2 separate regions of the Homo sapiens genome follow, and region 2 is linked to region 1. Evidence: promoter capture Hi-C in 16 types of primary human blood cells and fetal thymus (Javierre and others, 2016). All regions are on one chromosome and are shown on one strand. The core of a region is centred on a gene start or on the middle of the fragment in contact, and the rest is flanking DNA. Distances in the headings are between cores, read along the strand shown.

What was found. Contacts are between HindIII fragments. The CHiCAGO score rates a contact against its expected background, and 5 or more counts as called.
Region 2: a fragment that was not itself captured here is called in contact with the fragment with the promoter of AMER3 in region 1 in 1 of 17 cell types (erythroblasts); the score reaches 5.6 in erythroblasts.

What each region holds. Positions count from the first base shown.
Region 1 is chr2:130,751,845-130,758,169 of GRCh38, reverse strand. AMER3 (APC membrane recruitment protein 3) reads right to left here and starts at 2,630. Exons shown (of 2, transcript NM_152698.3): 1 at 2,496-2,630. It overlaps LOC124907890 (a long non-coding RNA gene), which reads left to right and starts at 2,288. Exons shown (of 2, transcript XR_007087239.1): 1 at 2,288-2,487. RefSeq lists enhancers at 973-1,476, 2,355-2,854. The HindIII fragment of the contact is 12,260 bases long and covers 1-6,325 here.
Region 2 is chr2:131,000,400-131,005,956 of GRCh38, reverse strand. All of the region lies in intron 4 of ARHGEF4 (Rho guanine nucleotide exchange factor 4), which reads right to left. Among named protein-coding and RNA genes, the nearest start is that of SMIM39, 32 kb to the left of the region's middle. The HindIII fragment of the contact is 1,397 bases long and covers 992-2,388 here.

The DNA.
Region 1 (6,325 bases), core at 1,381-3,880:
GCCAGGATGGTGGGTTTTTTGTTTTGTTTTGTTTTTTTGATGGAATCTCGCTCTGTCGCCCAGGCTGGAGTGCAGTGGCGTGATCTTGGCTCACTGCAAGCTCCACCTCGCGGGTTCACACCATTCTCCTGCCTCAGCCTCCTGAGTAGCTGGGACTACAGGCACCCGCCACCATGCCCGGCTAATTTTTTTTGTACTTTTAGTAGAGACGGGGTTTCACCGTGTTAGCCAGGATGGTCTTGATCTCTTGACCTTGTGATCCTCCCACCTAGGCCTCCCAAAGTACCAGGATTACAGGCGTAAGCCACCGCTCCCGGCCTATGTGCATCATTTTTTAAGACAGCATTGACACCAGGACCCTGGGCTGAGTCTTTCATCTCTAAGACGAACTTGCAAGTTCCATGGGAACAGGGACCACACAATGTATTTACTTAATTAATTCTGTTACAGGGATGTGATATTTAAACCAAACTTAAAAGACAGAAGAGGACAGCCAGGCAAAAGACATTGGACACATATTCCAGGCAGAGAGAACACCCTTCAGAAAGGCCCCGAGGAGCAAGAGAAGTAGAATATTTAAGGATCTGAAAGCAGCTCAAGTGACCAGAGCAGCAAGCCAGAGGGATGAGGCCTGGAGATGGGCTGTACACACCACACCCGGCCTGAGGTCTCAGCGAGGGCCGTGCTTTTATCTGCAAGCCACAGGGAGCCAACCTTCCAGGGCAAGTGACGGGCCAATTCTCACTTTCAAAGATGCAGGTGAAAATGGACAGCGGAGACACAGAGGCGAGTTAGGAGCCCAAGCAGGGTTTAGGGGAGAGAAGGTGGTGGCAGAGACTCCTCTGTCTGTGCACCTCCCATCACAGTGTTTTACACGGCACACACAGACATGGATTTATTGCAAATTGGGCAAATGAAGTTATTCTACTGGTTGCTTTTCTACATGACCAACTCAGGCTTAGCTGCCCAGCTTTTTCTTTTTCCTTTGAGAAGGTAATTCCGTGGCTTTTTTTTTCCTTTCTTAACCTGAAAGTGTCCCGGTGTTTGATTTCATGGAGCAAAATAAAAACCCTGGAGGAATACACATGCCACAGAAACGCCTTGAGACAAAAAAACGTTTGGCTAATAGTTTTGGTATTTTCTATGCCTTCCCCGGTATGCAGGAAAGTCACAGCAGTGTGATACAAAGGAGTGTATGGTGATAAAAAAGCGCAGGCCCAGGGACCTCTGGAAACTGGGCTGGCGGTAGAGCTATGGGGCAATAGCGTTCTCAGTAGTAGGCTGCCTTGTCATGGGAGGGCTGGAGTGAGGGCCACTGTGCGGAGGGAAAGCGACCGTGCTCTGGGGTGGGGGTGGGAATGGGGAATAAAACAGAAATAGAATCTGCGGTGAGAGCACCACCAAGCCACCCAACCCCCACACTGGGGAGACAAAGGGCCCTCTGGGGAGGGAAGGTCCTGGCCCACCTCCTTGGAGGGCGCCTCTGGGCGGTCCTGGCCTGCCCAGGGGCAAGGAGATGGGCCTCACAGCGATATTGGCTCTCCCTCAGCTCCTGCATCCGCCGGCGGAGGGTTTCTCCGCTTCCCTAGCCCAGACCTAAAAGGGTCACCGCTCCCAGGCCCCTGACTGCGCCGGGAACCGCTGGGTGGAGGGTGTCGACCCTGCTTCCTGCCCTCAGCCCGTCCATCGCGCCAGAGAATGCACCAAATTCCCCAATCCTTGCCCTCCCCGGGGGTCCACATCCGCGGGGCAGGACCAACGCAGCCTCTCGGGGCCTTGGCGACTTACCGCTGGGGGCCCGCAGTGCAGCAGGGCGCGGCCGCGACAGGCTCGGGCACCGCGTCGGAGCGCGAGCCGCGCTCAGCACCACGGTCAGCTCCCGGCGCCGCGCGCCGCGGCCGGGAGGGGGAGGCCCGGCGCCCGCACCCACCCACCGCGGCTCCAGGGGCCCCGCGGGGTCGGGCAGGCGAGGGTTAAGCCGCCAGAGGCCAGCGGGAGGGGCGGGCCGGCGCTGGCGCGCAGGGGTGGCGAGGGGGCGCGCCGGCCGCGGTGGGGGCTGCTCCGCCAGGCTGCCGCCTCCCTGCGCCGCCGCTCGGGCCGCGCTCGAGCCGGCTTTGTCTGTTCGTATCGCCCCGTCTCTGTTTCTGGGTGTCTCTGCCTCCCACCCGGTTGCGGCTGCGCCTCCCTCAGGTGCAGTCGTCTCCCCTCGCCCCCGTGCGCACGGCGCCCCCGCCGCTGTCCCCTCTTCCGGGAGCGCACAGGTGTGGGAGCCCCTCCCCCTCAGCCCAGAGAGCCAGCCCAGCCCTGCCGACCGCAGCACTCTCGGAAGGGCTCGGCCACCCGGAGCCTCGTCACGAGTCTTACCCAGGGTTCGGAGCGGGCCTGCAAGAAGGGGCAGGCCAGGCTGGGGCTGCAAGGCAGGGTCTTCCCTTGGAGAAGGGACCTGACTCTATTATTAAGAGAACGAAAGAGGCACTTGCCCTACAGGTACTCACTGTGTGGGGTCTACTGGTGCTGTGCTCTGCCGCAGTCTTGAGGGAGGAGCAGAAATGCTGTGGGGACTCTGTCTCCGCAGAACTGAGGACGAGGGGTCTGCACGCGTGGTTCAGTGCCTGGGGCTGGGGTGGATTAAGTAACTCCAGGAAGGCTCAGGCAGCAGTGCCAGTAGTGTGGGGCGGGGTTGTGGGGAGGAGGGGGGAGCGGGAGCGCACAGTCGGTGCTGGGGAGAGGCTGATGCCAACAGGAGGCTCTCGGCCGTGGTGTGCCCAGGCGGGGCAGGACGGGAGGATGCAGGAGTCCCGGGTCCACGCTGAGGCTAAGGCTGAAGGGAAGGCAGAGCTCAGGTGGATGACGGAGGCCAGGCCTTTCCCTGAGCTTGGTGGGCTCCCTCCCGGTCACCTTGTCTGAGAACCCAGGACACAGAGTCCCCTTGCTTTGGACTGGTTTGGTTTGTCATTCCCCTTGACATCGCCTCGCCCCAGAGACAAGAGGCCCCTTCATCCTCCAGCCAAGACCTTCCCCACCCTTGGGTGACCTACCCTCTTGCATTTTTTAGATTTGAGCCCTCTTTCTATGCAGCGACTAACTCAACGTGACCCCAGAGGCCCCCTCGCCCATGTTGCTGGTAGTCTTGACCTTTTTTGGCAGATCCTGGCTGTGGGAGTTCCCTGTCTTTCTCTTAGGTAGGACAGAAGGCAGTTTCTGCCTCGTTGCCACATACACCCCAAGTCAGGGGTAGGACTCCCGCAGACCCCACAGTCCTCCTCTTGTTAAAATTAGTAAGCATTAGCCTTCCTTATTAGGCTCTCCCCGCTTTTGCATTTAAGGATTTTTTAATGTGTCTTATAAAATCATGTAATTGTGAGGATAATTACAGATTCAGCTTCTTCCAGTGAGTGACAATTGCTCATTTTCGATGCTCACATGGTCATCGTTCGGCCACTGCAAACTGTTCCAACCCTTCTACTTTGTCATTTCAGACAGTTTTCAAACACCCCTAACTTTTGGGTAACATGAAAATATATATTTCAAATTTTTTATTTCCCCAAGATGTGGGATCAGGTCTTCCCCAGGGACTCCTGGAAAAATCTTTTACACTAGGCTACCCAGTTCAGATACCACTGAATGATTTTTCTTAAATATTATTCTAATGTGAACTTACATTTTATTTTTACAATACACTGACTTACACGCCTGTAATCCCAGCACTTTGGGAGGTCCAGACGGGCGGATCACAAGGTCAGGAGATCAAGACCATCCTGGCTAACATGGCAAAACCCCCTCTCTACTAAAAGTACAAAAAAAATTAGCCAGGCATGGTGGTGGGCGCCTGTAGTCCCAGCTACTCAGGAGGCTGAGGCAGGAGAATGGCGTGAACCCAGGAGGTGGAGCTTGCAGTGAGCCGAGATTGTGCCACTGCACTCCAGCCTGGGTGACAGAGCGAGACTCTGTCTCAAAAAAAAAAAAAAAACAAACAAAAAAACACACACAAAACACTGACTTAGATTTCTCATCTGTGTTTTTGAGCAGTGGCTGTAAACCTTTTCTTTCCTGGAACTAGCTTTCTGGTCACTTGGTTGTCCCCAGGGTCTCAGACCTTCTGGCCACACCACCCCTTGCTTTCTTGGCAGGCCAAAGAGTTGACTGTGGGCACAAATGAGTCGGCCATCCACTGTGCCAGTCACGTCAGCTGCATTTGTGGGGTACCATCAGACCTACTGCTTTGAGCTGTTTCTTTTTCTTTTAAAATTTTCAATATTTAAAAACTTTTTTATTTCATATTTCCAAACAGTGAACAGTTGGTTTCTTTTTCTTAAAAAAATTTTTATCTTATTTTTTGAGATGGAGTTTCACTCTTCTTGCCCAGGCTGGAGTTCAATGGTGTGATCTTGGCTCACTGCAACCTCCACCTCCCGGGTTCAAGTGATTCTCCTGCCTCAGCCTCCTGAGTAGCTGGGATTACAGGCATGCAGCACCACGCCTGGCTAATTTTGTATTTTTAGTAAAGACAGGGTTTCTCCATGTTGGTCAGGCTGGCCTCAAACTCCCAATCTCAGGTGATCTGCCCTCCTCGCCTCCCAAAGTGCTGGGATTACAGGCGTGAGCCACCACGCCCGGCCGGTTTCTTTTTCTTTATTGTGGTAAAATATACATAATATGAAATTTACCATTTACCCCTTTTTAAGTGTACAGTTCAGTGGCATTTACACTCACACTGTTGTGCAACCATCACCACAGTCTATTGCCAAAACACGTTCCTGACCCCAACAGAAATTCTGTACCCATTAAGCACTAAAACTCCATTCTCCTCTCCCCGTAGCTGCTGGGAACCACTATTCTACTTTTCTCTGATTTTGACCACTCTAGGTACCTCATAGAAGTGGAATCATACAGTATCTGTCTTTTTGTGGCTGGCTTATTTCACTTAGCATAATGTTTTGAGGGTGTATCCGTGTTGCAGCATGTATCAGAATATCCTTCCTTTTTAAGAGTGGATATTATTCCATTGTGTGTAGAGACCACATTTTGTTTATCCATTCATCTGTCAATGGACCGTTTGGGTTGCACCACCTTTGGCTATTGTGAATAATGCTATTATAAGCAGCAATGTACAAATACCTGTTTAGGTTCCTGCTTTTGGTTCTTTGGAATATAAACCACAGAAGTGCCATATTGGAGTCATAATGGTTTCTATGTTTAATTTTCTGAGGAACTATCATACTGTTCTCCACTGTGTACAATTTGACATCCCACCAGCAATGTAGAGCATTTTTCCATATCCTCGCCAACATGTTGTTTTCTGTGTGTTTTTGTTTGTTTGTTATTTGTTTATAAATAGTAGCCATCCATTAGGATGGCTGTGAAGTCGTATATCATTGTGGTTTTGATTTGTATTTTCCTAATGATTAGTGATATTGAGCATCTTTTCATATGCTTATTGGCCATTTGTATATATTCTTTGGAGAAGTATCTATTCAAGTCCTTTCTCCATTTTTAATTAGATTGTTTGTCTTTATTGTTGAGTTCTAGGAGTTGTTTATATATTCTGGATGTTAATCCCCTACCCAGTAGATGATTTGCAAATATTTTTTCTCATTCTGTGGATTGCCTTGTCACTCTTGATGAGTGGTTTTCATTAATTTTGATAAAGTCCAGGTTATTTATTTTGTGTATTATTTCTTGAACTTTTGGTGTCATATCAAATAAATCATTGCAAAATCCAATGTCACAAAGATTTTCTAGGTTTTCTTGTAAAAGTTTTATACTTTTAGCTCTTCGATCAATTTTTAGTTAATTTTTGTATATGGCAGAAGGTAAGAGTCCAGTTTCATTTTTTGATGTGACTATTCAGTTTTCCCAGCATAATTTGTTGAAAAGACTGTCCTTTCTCCATTGAATGGTCTTGGCATCCTTGTTGAAAATCATTTGACTAAATACCTGAGGATTTGTTTCTGGGCTCTCTATCCTATTTTATCGGTCTGTATGTCTGTCTTTGTACCACACTGTTTCGATTACTGTAGCTTTGTCCCAGTCTACTTTTGTAAGCATTCAAACCCATTTATTTATTTATTTATTTATTTATTTATTTATTTAAGATGGAGTCTCGCTCTGTCACCCAGGCTGGAGTGCAGTGGTGCAGTCTCGGCTCACTGCCAGCTCCGCCTCCCTGTTTCACGCCATTCTCCTGCCTCAGCCTCCCGAGTAGCTGGGATTACAGGTGCCCGCCACTTGTATTTTTAGTAGAGATGGGGTTTTCACTGAGTTAGCCAAGATGATCTCGAGCTCTTGACCTCGTGATCCGCCTGCCTCGGCCTCCCAAAGTGCT
Region 2 (5,557 bases), core at 441-2,940, 250 kb before region 1:
GAACTATCTCCCTATGTTAAGGTCAGCTCATTAGCAACCTCAGTCCTATCTGCAAAGTCCCTTGCAGGAAGTTCCTAGATTTGTGTCTGGCTAACCAGTGGGCAGAGGTTTTGGGAGCATCCTGAGAATTCTGTCTACTACAGACACACCTTCCAGACCTTTTGCCGGGAAGCTGCCCAGCACCACGGGTCCCTGTGGTCCACGGCGCATCTCCCCCCAGTGCCCACACAGCCTGGCCCCTGGGGCGCTGGGCACTCCCGCCCCTCCCCTCCCACCTGAGGACACAGGCCAGCTCCCCTGCATCTTCTGCACGCTGCGGGGTACGTGGCCAAGCCCCTGGGACTGGGAAGACTAGGGCAGCCTGGGAAGCATCTCCAGGGTCCCAGCTTTTCTTAACATATAGAAATCTCACTCACAGATCTCAGATGCAAGTAAATGACCCCCAGAGGCGCACTTCAACACAGAACAGGACTGGGCAGTCTCCCATGTCAGGAGAAAGCTGGGACTTGGAGCCCCATGGGAGCCTGAGGACGGCAGGGAGTGGCTGTTGTGGGAGGGCCCTGCTGCTGGAGGGCAGCCCTGTGTGGGACACCCCATGTCATCGGTAGCTCACCGGGGAGGGCTTACCCTGGCTGCACTTCCCGATTTCTACCTGGATGTGAGGAATGAGGCCGAGCCCTCTTCAGGCTGCTGCTGTGTCCCTCACAGGACACAGTCAAGTCAGCTCTGCCCCCAGAGCGTGACAGATATCAGCCCACTGCTGACTGCGGATGGCTTCCAGCCCCATCCTCTTCCTCTCTTGCCCCATAACTGCAAAATCAATGCAAACCCCAGGCGAGGGGTGGCAGGACTCTCACCCTGGCTCCCTCCTCACCACCATACAGCCCTCAGCCATACTCAGCCACCCAGGGCCCCCTTTGCTGCAGCTGTTCCAGCTGGGCTGCAGTCTGCCCTGCTCTCACAGAAAGCCCCAGGGCACCAACCACAAGCTTTCCCCACCCTCCTGGTGTGTGTGTGGTGTTATCCTTCTCCACATCCAAACCAAACTTTGGAGGAGGGAATGGGGTTGCTCCTGTACCTGCCATGGGGCAGCCACAAAGCCACCTGCAAGCTATTTGCCCACACCAGACACTGGAGTAAATAAAACAGCAGAGATGTGGTTGCCAGAAGGGTTCAGCCAAAGTGTGTTGTGTCCCCAGGGCAGACTATTCTTCATCCTCTCCATCATTCACAGAGATCTGGACCTGAGTTCTGTGAGGCCGGGGTGGGACAGAGACACCACACCCTAGAAAGAGGGCTGAGGATGGCAGGCGCTCACGGCCGGGTCAGGCCTGGAAGGACCATCGAGGCCGGGCTGTGTGACAAGGAGGGCCGCACTCTGCCACCAAGTGGGCTTGGCCACCCATTCACCTCCCAGTGGCTGTCTCCTTACTTTGAGGAAAAGACAATTAGGGAGTGAAATACTTCCGAATGTGGTTTAAAAAACAGAGAGGGCTGGGTGCGGTGGCTCACGCCTGTAATCCCAGCACTTTGGGAGGCCAAGGCAGGGGGATCATGAAGTCAGGTGATTGAGACCATCCTGGCTAACACGGTTAAACCCCGTCTCTACTAAAAATACAAAAAATTAGACAAGCATGGTGGCGGGGGCCTGTAGTCCCAGCTACTCGGGAAGCTGAGGCAGGAGAATGGCATGAACCCTGGAGGTGGAGCTTGCAGTGAGTCGAGATCGTGCCATTGCACTCCAGCCCGAGCGACAGAGTGAGACTCCGTCTCAAAAAAACCCCAAAACAAAACAAAACACACCAACTAACAGAGATTCCTTGATTCCATAGGCATATGGAAGGCCTGCACCACACTGGCCCAGCTTCCTCCCTTTCTTATCTTTCCCAGAGGTGGGTCTGGTGTCCCCAGGGTGTGCAGGGGCTCTATGTAGGGAGTGAAGATCCTCCTATCCCCATCTCTCCCAACCAAAGATGCTCCTTTGGCTGCTGAAGGCTTAGGATTTTTTTAAAAGTCCTGTTTCGGTGAAAACTTGTGAAGGGTCCCTGTATAAATATTTCCAGGTCGTTATTACCCAGTTACCCTAGTTAAGTTCTTTCTAATTAAGCCCATCGATTTCAGAAAAGCCTACTTCCCAGAAGACTGATCTGAAGTCATTAGCTGACTGACATATCTAGGCTATGTTGTCAGATGTCATCTTTGCCCTGGCATTTCTGCATTTCAGGCTCGGTCTAGCAACTGCCATCACATACTATCCAAAGCAAGGCAGACTAAATGAGAGATCAGAAAGGATTATCCCTATCTTAACAGGAGTGTCACTCAGGCTGACCTCACGTACTGCGGGGCCATCTTCTTCCTCATTGACAGGCAAGTATGGACAGAGAAGCTTCCAGATTTTCACCCACCTGTCCACAGGCAACTCAGCCTGGTGCATCTAGGGACCCAGTGAATTGTGCCTTCCCATCAACTGGTGCTTACTAAGGGTCTCTGCCTTGGCCAGAACTCTGCTTAAAGAAGCTTCAGGGAATACTGCAGAAATGACGAGAGATGCGTGTCACGATCAAGAAGGAAGAAACTGGAATCCACTGAGTGGTCATCATGTGCCAGGAGCATTCATGTAGATCATTTCACTTCATACAGAAACAGTGTGGAACAGGAATGGCCATTGTTTTATAAATCAGGAACTGAGGTGCAGAGGGGGTGTGTCTTACGGCATGACCTGGACCTCTGGGTACAGAGTGCGTGCGGGATGGTCCTCCATTCCCCTGGCCTCGTCATGGCTCAGTGCTTTAGAGAGTTGATGCCTGAGGTAGAACAGCGAATGCCCCATCGTCAAGGTCACTGTTACTAACGCTGTTCATACCAGAGGCACTGCGGGACCTCCCAGAGCAGGGATCTTTGCTTGTTGCCCTCTTGTCCGAACAGTCCCTATCCTAGTGTCTTGCACAAAGTTGGGGTGCAAAAATATCTATTCAGCAAATGTAGTAATTAAAAGCCATCCCTGTTTATTCATTAAAACAGTTCCCTTTAGGTGACTACTTACAAAACCATAGGGCTAGGGTGCTCATTCTATGAACTCAGAAGTGTAAACCAACAATGTTGAAAAACTAATATAGGAAGCCGACCAACAGTTCATTCAGACTGTCCGTTCCAGCAGCGGAGGCTGATTTTACAAAGAGCAGTGAGCTCTCCTTCACCCCCAGCCCCCACAACCCTTTTTTTTTTTTTTTTTTTTTTTTTTTTTTTTGAGACGGAGTCTCGCTCTGTCGCCCAGGCTGGAGTGCAGTGGTGCGATCTCGGCTCACTGCAAGCTCCGCCTCCCGGGTTCACGACATTCTCCTGCTTCAGCCTCTGAAGTAGCTAGGACTACAGGTGCCTGCCAACACGCCCAGCTAATTTTTTGTATTTTTAGTAGAGATGGGGTTTCACTGTGTTAGCCAGGACGGTCTCGATCTCCTGACCTCGTGATCCGCCCGCCTCGGCCTCCCAAAGTGCTGGAATTACAGGCGTGAGCCACTACGCCCAGCTAATTTTTTTGTATTTTTAGTAGATGGGGTTTCACCGTGTTAGCCAGGATGGTCTCGATCTCCTGACCTCGTGATCTGCCTGCCTCGGCCTCCCAAAGTGCTGGGATTACAGGCATGAGCCACCGCGCCCGGCCCCTCACAGCTTTTTAAGTGTCTAATTCCAGGAGTAAAGAGATTAGCTACATATTAATCTTTTCAAAAATTATTTTGAGCATTAAAGCTTTTAAATTTTTAAACATTTTAAAGTCGGCAAGCTCCATGAAGACAGGGCATTGCGTGCACCTTGTTTACCACTGTACTCCAAGCATCCAGAACAGAGCCCTGCAGCCAGTAGATTCTCAGTAAGTATTTGTTCAATAAACGTAAACTAAACATACAAAAAAGTACAGAAAATAGAAAAGAAAGTATTCCGACGTAGCCATCCCAGAGATTAAACAAATGCCAGCATTTTGGCATATTTATTGCTTATCTCCCAAAATATTACCAGTGGAGCTGAAGCCTTGCCCCTCATGTTACCTCCCTAGCTTCCTCTCCAGAGGCAAATCTCTGTGCTTAAATTGTTCTGTACTATTCTCATGCATTTTCTATAATCTTACTAAATATGCACATATCCTAAGGTGTACTGTTATGTACTATTATTTGTGTCTTGTAGATTTACACAAATATGATCGTCCTACATGTATCCTTCTGAAGTCTGCCGTTTCCATGTTTCTTGGGTATAACCTCGAAGCCTCAGCACACAGCTGCCTGCTATGCATACATGGAAGAGTTTATCTAGGATACATAGAGAATCATGTTCGACTTTACTAGATACTGCCAAACTAACCTCTGAAGTATCTGTATAAATTTACATTTACTCACCATTTATAAGAATTCTGGACCCTGTACATCCTCACCAATACTTGGCATTCACACAACGCATCTGCCAATGTGAAGGGTATGGAATGGTTTCTCTTGTTGCTTCTCGATTGGCAGTTAGGTTGAACATTTGTTCACATATTCATTGATTATTCAGGTTCCTCTTCTAAGAACTGCCCATTTGCATCACATGCCCAGTGTTATGTTATCCGTCTTCCCGTTATCCATCTTCAGCTCTTTCTGTTTTTTTTTTTTTTTTTTTTTTTTTTGAGACACAGTCTCACTCTGTCGCCCAGGCTGGAGTGCAGTGGTGCAATCTCAGCTCACTGCAACTTCCGCCTCCTAGGTTCAAGATATTCTCTTGCCTCAGCCTCCCGAGTAGCTGGGATTACAGGCATGCACTGCCACGCCCGGCTAAAGTTTGTATTTTTGTAGAGATGGGGTTTCGTCATGTTGGCAAGGCTGGTCTCATACTCCTGACCCCAAGTGAGCCACCGCCTCAGCCTCCCAAAGTGCTGGGATCACAGGTGTGAGCCACTGTGCCTGGCCCCATCTTCAGTTCTTAATATGTTCTTTACATCAATCCTTTGTCACTCGTAAGATATTTTAAATATATTTCCTAGTCTGTGACTTAGTCTACTAAGTCCGCCACTACTCCCCAGTCTGTGAGAAGGCACACTGTTTGGAAAATTTTTTGAAGCACAGGTTTACATTTTAATGTTATCAAATTTATTAATCTTTTCCTTTATAATAGGCTTTTTTTTGGCTTTGCCTTTCTCTACTTATTTTAAAGCTTATATATTTTAAGGTTTATACATTTCCCTTGAATTATGACTGTGGCTTGCTTCAGTTTCTCATTCAATTCTAAATCTGAAAACCTAGATAAAATACGTCAACTCCTAAAAATGTACACATAATGGTAAAATTGGCATAAGAGAAAATCTGAGTGAACAAAGACTTAAGAAATTAAAATGGTAGTTAAAAAAAGAAAAACCCTTCCCTTCCTAAATCTCTTGGCTCAGATGGTTTTGTACAGAAGGCCATCAATCTTTGAAAGAATCATTCATTCACATCTTTACAAGTTGCTTCAGAAAATAGAAAAAGAACAAAACAATGCCCAACTTGAGGCTAGTGCAATCTTGATTCCAAAATAAGACAAAAGAAACACAACA